Regions from separate parts of the Homo sapiens genome. Here region 2 is linked to region 1. Evidence: promoter capture Hi-C in 16 types of primary human blood cells and fetal thymus (Javierre and others, 2016). All regions are on one chromosome and are shown on one strand. Each heading gives the region's core, a stretch centred on a gene start or on the middle of the fragment in contact. The rest is flanking DNA. Distances are from core to core; before and after follow the strand shown.

What was found. The method cuts DNA at HindIII sites, captures the fragments that hold promoters and counts their contacts. A CHiCAGO score of 5 or more calls a contact.
Region 2: the fragment with the promoter of EGFLAM-AS2 here is called in contact with a fragment that was not itself captured in region 1 in 3 of 17 cell types (M1 macrophages, M2 macrophages and M0 macrophages); the score reaches 6.3 in M1 macrophages.

Annotation. Positions count from the first base shown.
Region 1 is chr5:38,763,771-38,766,923 of GRCh38, forward strand. All of the region lies in intron 2 of OSMR-DT (OSMR divergent transcript), which reads right to left. It also overlaps the pseudogene LOC100132789. Among named protein-coding and RNA genes, the nearest start is that of LINC01265, 45 kb to the left of the region's middle. RefSeq lists a silencer at 1,557-1,851. The HindIII fragment of the contact is 701 bases long and covers 1,280-1,980 here.
Region 2 is chr5:38,401,908-38,405,060 of GRCh38, forward strand. It overlaps EGFLAM-AS2 (EGFLAM antisense RNA 2), which reads right to left and starts at 1,564. Exons shown (of 3, transcript NR_102750.1): 1 at 1,492-1,564; 2 at 1-174. The region is part of intron 6 of EGFLAM (EGF like, fibronectin type III and laminin G domains); the gene reads left to right. The HindIII fragment of the contact is 8,755 bases long and covers 1-3,153 here.

The sequences.
Region 1 (3,153 bases), core at 380-2,879:
TCCTATTAGTTCTGTCCCTTTAGAGAACCCTGACTAATACACAACATCTTTCTAAAGTCAGGCTTAGAAATTCTAATCCAGTAACTTAAGATGTTTCCTTTCTCTGATAACAGAGTTGATTCATATCTGGCTTCTAAGCCACCATTCATAGGTATAGTCAAGAAAAGACCACCAAAAACAAGACCAACCAATCCACCTCATTTTATGGTATGGGTTTCAAATTCCAATGACCTCAATTCAAAGGTAAATTTACAAAACTTCTGTAAAATACATGTACTATCAGAAATGGGTTCTCTGCCATTGGTGAGCCGACAGCTATATGAGCCTGTGTCATGTTCAAGATGCATAGAAAAAGACTGTTTGCTATTAGGCCACGGAGAACAGCATTAAGTTCAACATATATTGATCCATGTTCAAGTAGTTTCCTTTCTGCTTCTGGAAGCTGGTTAATTTTTCTAGTTATGATGCCTAAAATTACGTTTTCCTTGAAAGTGCTATCTGGCTCCTGATTTTCCATCTTGAGCCTTATATTCTCCTTCCTCCAGGTTCCAGTGCCTGTCCAGGTCTTCCTCAGACATGCCAGGGCTCACTACAACTTTTGTTCAACTCACCTGAGTGCAGCCATCTTTGGCTGACAGGTGACTCTACTGTTTACCAAATATTTCTAGTTCTTCTGGACACATGGTAGGATTGCCCTTCCCTGCCCCGCTTTGAAAATAGCTGGGTCAAACGTGACATGATTTGACCAATGAAGTGTGTGTGTGGAAGTGACATATTCTACTCCCAGGTGGGAGTATTAAGATCTAGCTCATTATTTCCTCTGGATTTACTGTTGTCTTTTTTTTTTTAGTGGGGGACAGAGTATCACTCTGTCCCCCAGGCCAGAGTGCAGTGGCGCAATCTCGGTTCACTGCAAACTCCACTTCCCGAGTTCACGCTATTCTCCTGCCTCAGTCTCCCATGTAGCTGGGACTACAGGTGGCCGCCACCACGCCTGGCTAATTTTTTGTACTTTTTTTTAGTAGAGATGGGGTTTCACCCTGTTAGCCAGGATGGTCTCGATCTCCTGACCTCATGATCTGCCCACCTCGGCCTCCCAAAGTGCTGGGATTACAGGTGTGAGCCACCGCGCCCGGCCTACTGTAGTCTTTTCTTCCACTAAGGCAATACGTAGAGGTCTAGATAAAGGCTTCTCTGTTCATCTGAATCATGGAATGAAGAATGCTAGGAACTCAGCCCCCAGCTGACCCTGACGGATGTGTAGCATAAACAAGAAATAAGCTTTGCTGTTTTAAATCACTGAGATTGAAATTTTTGTTAGTGTTGTCAGAGTATACATAATCCATGATATATGTGTACTTGTTTACATATATAAACGTATCCTCCCCCTTCCCATCAAATTTTAAGATAATTTAGCAATCCAGAAAGACACACCACATTTATCTGGTGACTGTGTACACTGCCCATAGTTTTTTCCCAATTTGAGAAGCATAGAACTAGTTGTTCTTCAGGATCCCTTCAAAAGCTAGCGTTATGTCATGCTATGTATGAGGAGAGAACAGGCACCATGTCACTTAACTAAACCAAATACAATTAAATTAATTTGATTGGAGAGCTGTTCTATCTGATTGTGGGGCAATTGATTCGATTGCTATAGAGTCCATTGGATTTGGTTGTTAGCGTCTCAGTTGTCTTAATGAGGGGATCGGATTGCACAGTGATCCCACTGATTGTTTTGGCAGTTGGCCTACCAACTGTTGGCCAGTCAGCCAGAGCCACAGTTTGACCCCAGGACAGGATGTAAAATTAATTTGCTTGAATGCAACGTTCAAGCATTTTTCTTGGTAAGCTGGTATGTGTCAAGTACTATCATATAATAAATTATACTTATCAACTGCAAATATTTAAAATTTACATTCTTCCTTGTATACATGCCACCAAGAACTCTAAATATTTTACAATGCTATGCACTGTGGGCCAAGCTTAAGTTTTAAACTCTGTGCAGACCTCCGCTTCTCTGAAGAGCTTCATTCCAACATTCCTTAGGGTCAAAAACTGACCATTGCTTGCCATTAATAACAACTGATTCTGATTCCATCATTTAAAATGAAACTATTTATGCAATGGTGGAAGAATGAACTCTACACTCCAGGAGACCAATGATTTGTCTATTCTATTCACTATTGTGTGCACTCAAACAATGCCTGGGCTTGTTGTAGATGCTGGCTACCTATAGTATCTGAAGATATTGGATGAATAAGTGAATAAACAATTAACTAATAATTCAGAAGCACCAAAATTTCTTAATTTCAGCTATTTTCTAGAAGTGAGGAAAGTGCTTTTCTGAATATGTGAAGCAGTATAACAATGATTAAATGTTTTGACTTGGGAGTTAGTTGAGTCTGAATTTGATTTCTGATTGTGATGTTGTTGCAGATTGCACTTCACAAAGATGCTTACAATGACATTTCCCATTCCACACACTCTTTCACAATATGGACTTGATACTCACCCATCCTGAGATAGTCAGTTTCTCTACTCTTGGTAACCTGAATCTGGGTCAATCTTTTGATTAAGTTTGAGCAACTTAATTCAGCAGAAGTGATGATGCACCAGTTACAGACATAGCTCTTAACTGATCTGGCAACTTTTGCTTCCTGCCTCTTGGAAGCCAGCCGCCAGATAAAAATTAGAATCCTCTGATATTTCAAGATTCTGGTTGGATTGCTGGATGGATAATGAAAACAGAGAAAAGTAACGTTTTAAGGGAAAATAGGATGGATTCATACCAAACATGTTGAATCTGCTTTGTTTTGGGGACACACAATTTTAGTAGGGAGTTGGCTACATAGGTTTACAATTTAGGAGAGTCATATGTACTGCAGATGCAGACTTGGGAGTTGACAGCTAATAGATCATAATTGGACACATGTGAGATGACCTAGAAAAAGCACATAGGATGAGAAAGAAAGTGGGCCTGGGGCATAAGTACAAGGAACATCATCATTTTAGGAAAAGGCAGAGGAAGAAAAACCACAAAAGGGTAGGTAGAAACCCAGGAGAATTCTATATCACAGAAGCCAAGAGAAGAAGGGACTTCAAAGAAGATGTCAAATGCTGCTGAGATGACAAGGGAGTTGAGAACAGATCTAC
Region 2 (3,153 bases), core at 314-2,813, 360 kb before region 1:
AGGAGAAGATGAAGGAATGTCCTACAAGTCTTGGTGGCTTCTTACTTTGTGGAGTCACCATTTTTCCCAGAAGAGTCTGTTTTCTTTTTAAAATGTCGCTTGATTTTGGTCTTCTGATGGCACACATTCAGCTCTGTCTCCATAGAATGCATGCCCTCTGGGAGAATAGGTAGGCTGTGTGTAAGGAGATAGGAGTGGGAAAAAGATGACAATGGGAAAAAGCATTAACCAAAATCCTAGGGTAAGAAAATACAAGATGCATTCAGGAGACAACTGGCAGGCCAGTTTGGCTATTATATAGCTTTTAAAGAGTATTTTTTAAAAAACAACAAAAACCTGAAAACATAATTAGGATTCAGATTAAGTAGCATGATGTAGTCAAAAGAGAGACCAAGGATAAAATCTAGCCCTGCCATTCCCCATCTGTCTGCCTTGAGCAAGTTATTTAATCTCTCTGTGTCTATATCTCCACTTGGTAAAATGGAAGTAATAACACCAATTTTATAGTATTTTGTGAGGATTAACTTAAGCGATGTATGAAAAGCTCCTGGCACACTAAGAATGATCAACATATGGTAATTTTCTCAAATTCTAGGATCTTTCTACCTCCACAGTGGCTTCTTCTGCAATAGGCGATTAGGAGAGCAGTCACCAGACAGACCTTGGATTTGAGTTTAGCTCAGCCAGTTATAAAGTCTTCAATTTTAGGTAAATTACTTAACTACTCTTAACTCAGTTTTCTTATGTATAAAATGGATTAGTCATACTTACCTTGTAAGATTATTGAAAAGTTTAGAAATATATCATGTTAAGCACCCAATAGTACCTGATAAGAAGAGGAGATGGAGTAGAATTCAATAAATCATGGTGATGGGGGAAGAAGGAGGAAAAAAGGAGCTGTTTTAATTGAGAACCTTGAATTCTTGACCAAGAAGCCTAGAATTTATGTTGTAGGCAGTGGAGAGTCACTGAAGGTGATTTTTCAGATAGGAAATCATAGGATAAAGATGAAGAGAATCTTAACCTTGTTGAGAATGTGTTAATAAGGTGCACAGGGCAAGGAAGAACAGCCTGGAAGGAGAGAGACCAAACTACTGAAGACAAAAGCCAGCTTGCTTTATGTATGTGCTGTATAATTCTTTTACTACCAAATGGATTTCTTCTTCTGGAATCTAACAATTCTGAATATGTGAGAGAGGCAGAGATAGAAATGAAGAGTGAGGGAAAGGACAGAGGGGAGAAAGAGAAAGAGAGAGAGGGGCCGAGAGAGATAGATACAGTAGTTCCCTCTCCGCAGGGGATGTGTTCCAAGATTCCCAGTGGATACCTGAAACTGCAGATAATACTGAACCCTATATATGCAGCAGAACTAGCATAAATTTCATTTTCCTTCTTCACAGTTTCACAGATAGAAGATTCATTCTTGCCATAGATCTTAGCAACCTCAGCATATGATTTTTTTCTTTCCTTAATTCAGTTGAGAACTTTCACCTTTTAATTTAAAAGATGCACTTCATGGCTTCTCTTTGGCATATCTGAATCCCAGAATCACTGCTCTTGCACTGTGGGGCCATTATGAAGTCAGATAATGGTTACTGGAACATAAGCACTTCGATACCATGACAGTGAATCTGACAACTGAGACGGCTGCAGACCATGGGGCAGGGAGCATATGGAGCACGGATATGCCAGACAGAGGGATGATTCATATCCCAGGCAGGATGGAGCAGGGCAGTGTGCTATTTCATCGTGCTACTCAGAACTTATGAATTGTTTATTTCTGGAATTTCCCATTTAATATTTTTGGACTGTGGTTGATCGAGGGTAAATGAAATTGCAGAAAGCAAAAATACAGATAAGGGGGACTGCTTGCTGTACAAAGATAGAGACAAGAGGAAGGAGCTGTCCTCAAGGGCCTTTTGTGTGAAGACATCTGGCACACAGATACGCTGCATGCAGGTGGCTTGAGAGAACATGCATCCAGGTATAAATCTGGCATCGACAGGTTGAATTTTCAGTTGACAGGTGGACTACTTTAAATAAAACTGGGGAATTGGTGTGGAAGGGATGAGAACACCGCCTCCCCTTTGTTATCCCACCTCCACCAAGAAGTGCCCGAACCCCTGAGAACAGCTCACTCCACCCTGTCTCTGGGTCATCTGCATCATCTGCTGACTGCACTTCTCTCGTCTGGTCTGGGAGGAGATTGATTTCTGGTCAACAGCACGCCCCCTGACAAAAATGACTTTCTGCCATTTCCTTCCACTCCATTTTCAATCTGATTGCTATTCTGTTTGGAGGAGTGCTATGGTCGGAATGTTTATGTCTCCCTCAAATTCATATGTTGAAATCCTAACCCCCAAGGAGGGGCCTTTGGGAGGTACTTAGATCATAAGGGTGGAGTCCTTGTGAATGGGATCAGTGCCCTTATTAAAGAGGCCCAAAGGGGCTGGTTTGCCCTTTCCACCATGTGAAGATGCAGTGAGAAGGCACCATCTGTGCCCTCATCAGATACTGCCAGCCCTTTGATCTGGGACTTCACAGCCTGCAGAACTGTGAAAAATAAATGTTTGTGGTTTACAAGCCATCAGTTTATGGTACTTTTGTTGTAGCAGCCTGGACAGACAATGTAGGAGGGTGAGTTTGTCTTCCTGAGAATGGTGCATGACTTAGCTTATTCTGAAAGCAAAATGTCTTTAAGTTTAGTTTATGTTTTTTATGCTTTTTATGTTATTTTTCCTTTTTCTTTTCCACTAGGCATCCAAACACTGGATGTCTAATAACTAATGAGTGGCAGCATCCTACCAAAGCCAGTTTCTGTTGCCAAAGTTGTTACTGCCCTAAAGGCTGGTGCCTGGCTTTTTCAGTTGAGAGAGGGCAGCAAGTTAATACCTGTGCTGGCCCAAATCCACTGTGAGGACATGCAGGTGCCCTGGAGCCGCTCTTTAAAAGGCTGCCACCTCCTGGTGGAGTGTTTCCCATGTGCAACCTAAATCAGAGCGCTGTGGATCAGTGGATTCTGCGGATGACAGTTGAATAAAAATGCCAACTGAATGTTCCCCAAAAGATGATGCTCTGTATTGACGTCTGAGAGGTTTTCTCACCCACCTTTCAGTTCTGAAAGATTTAGTTGTCCTGCTAAGATGGATGAAA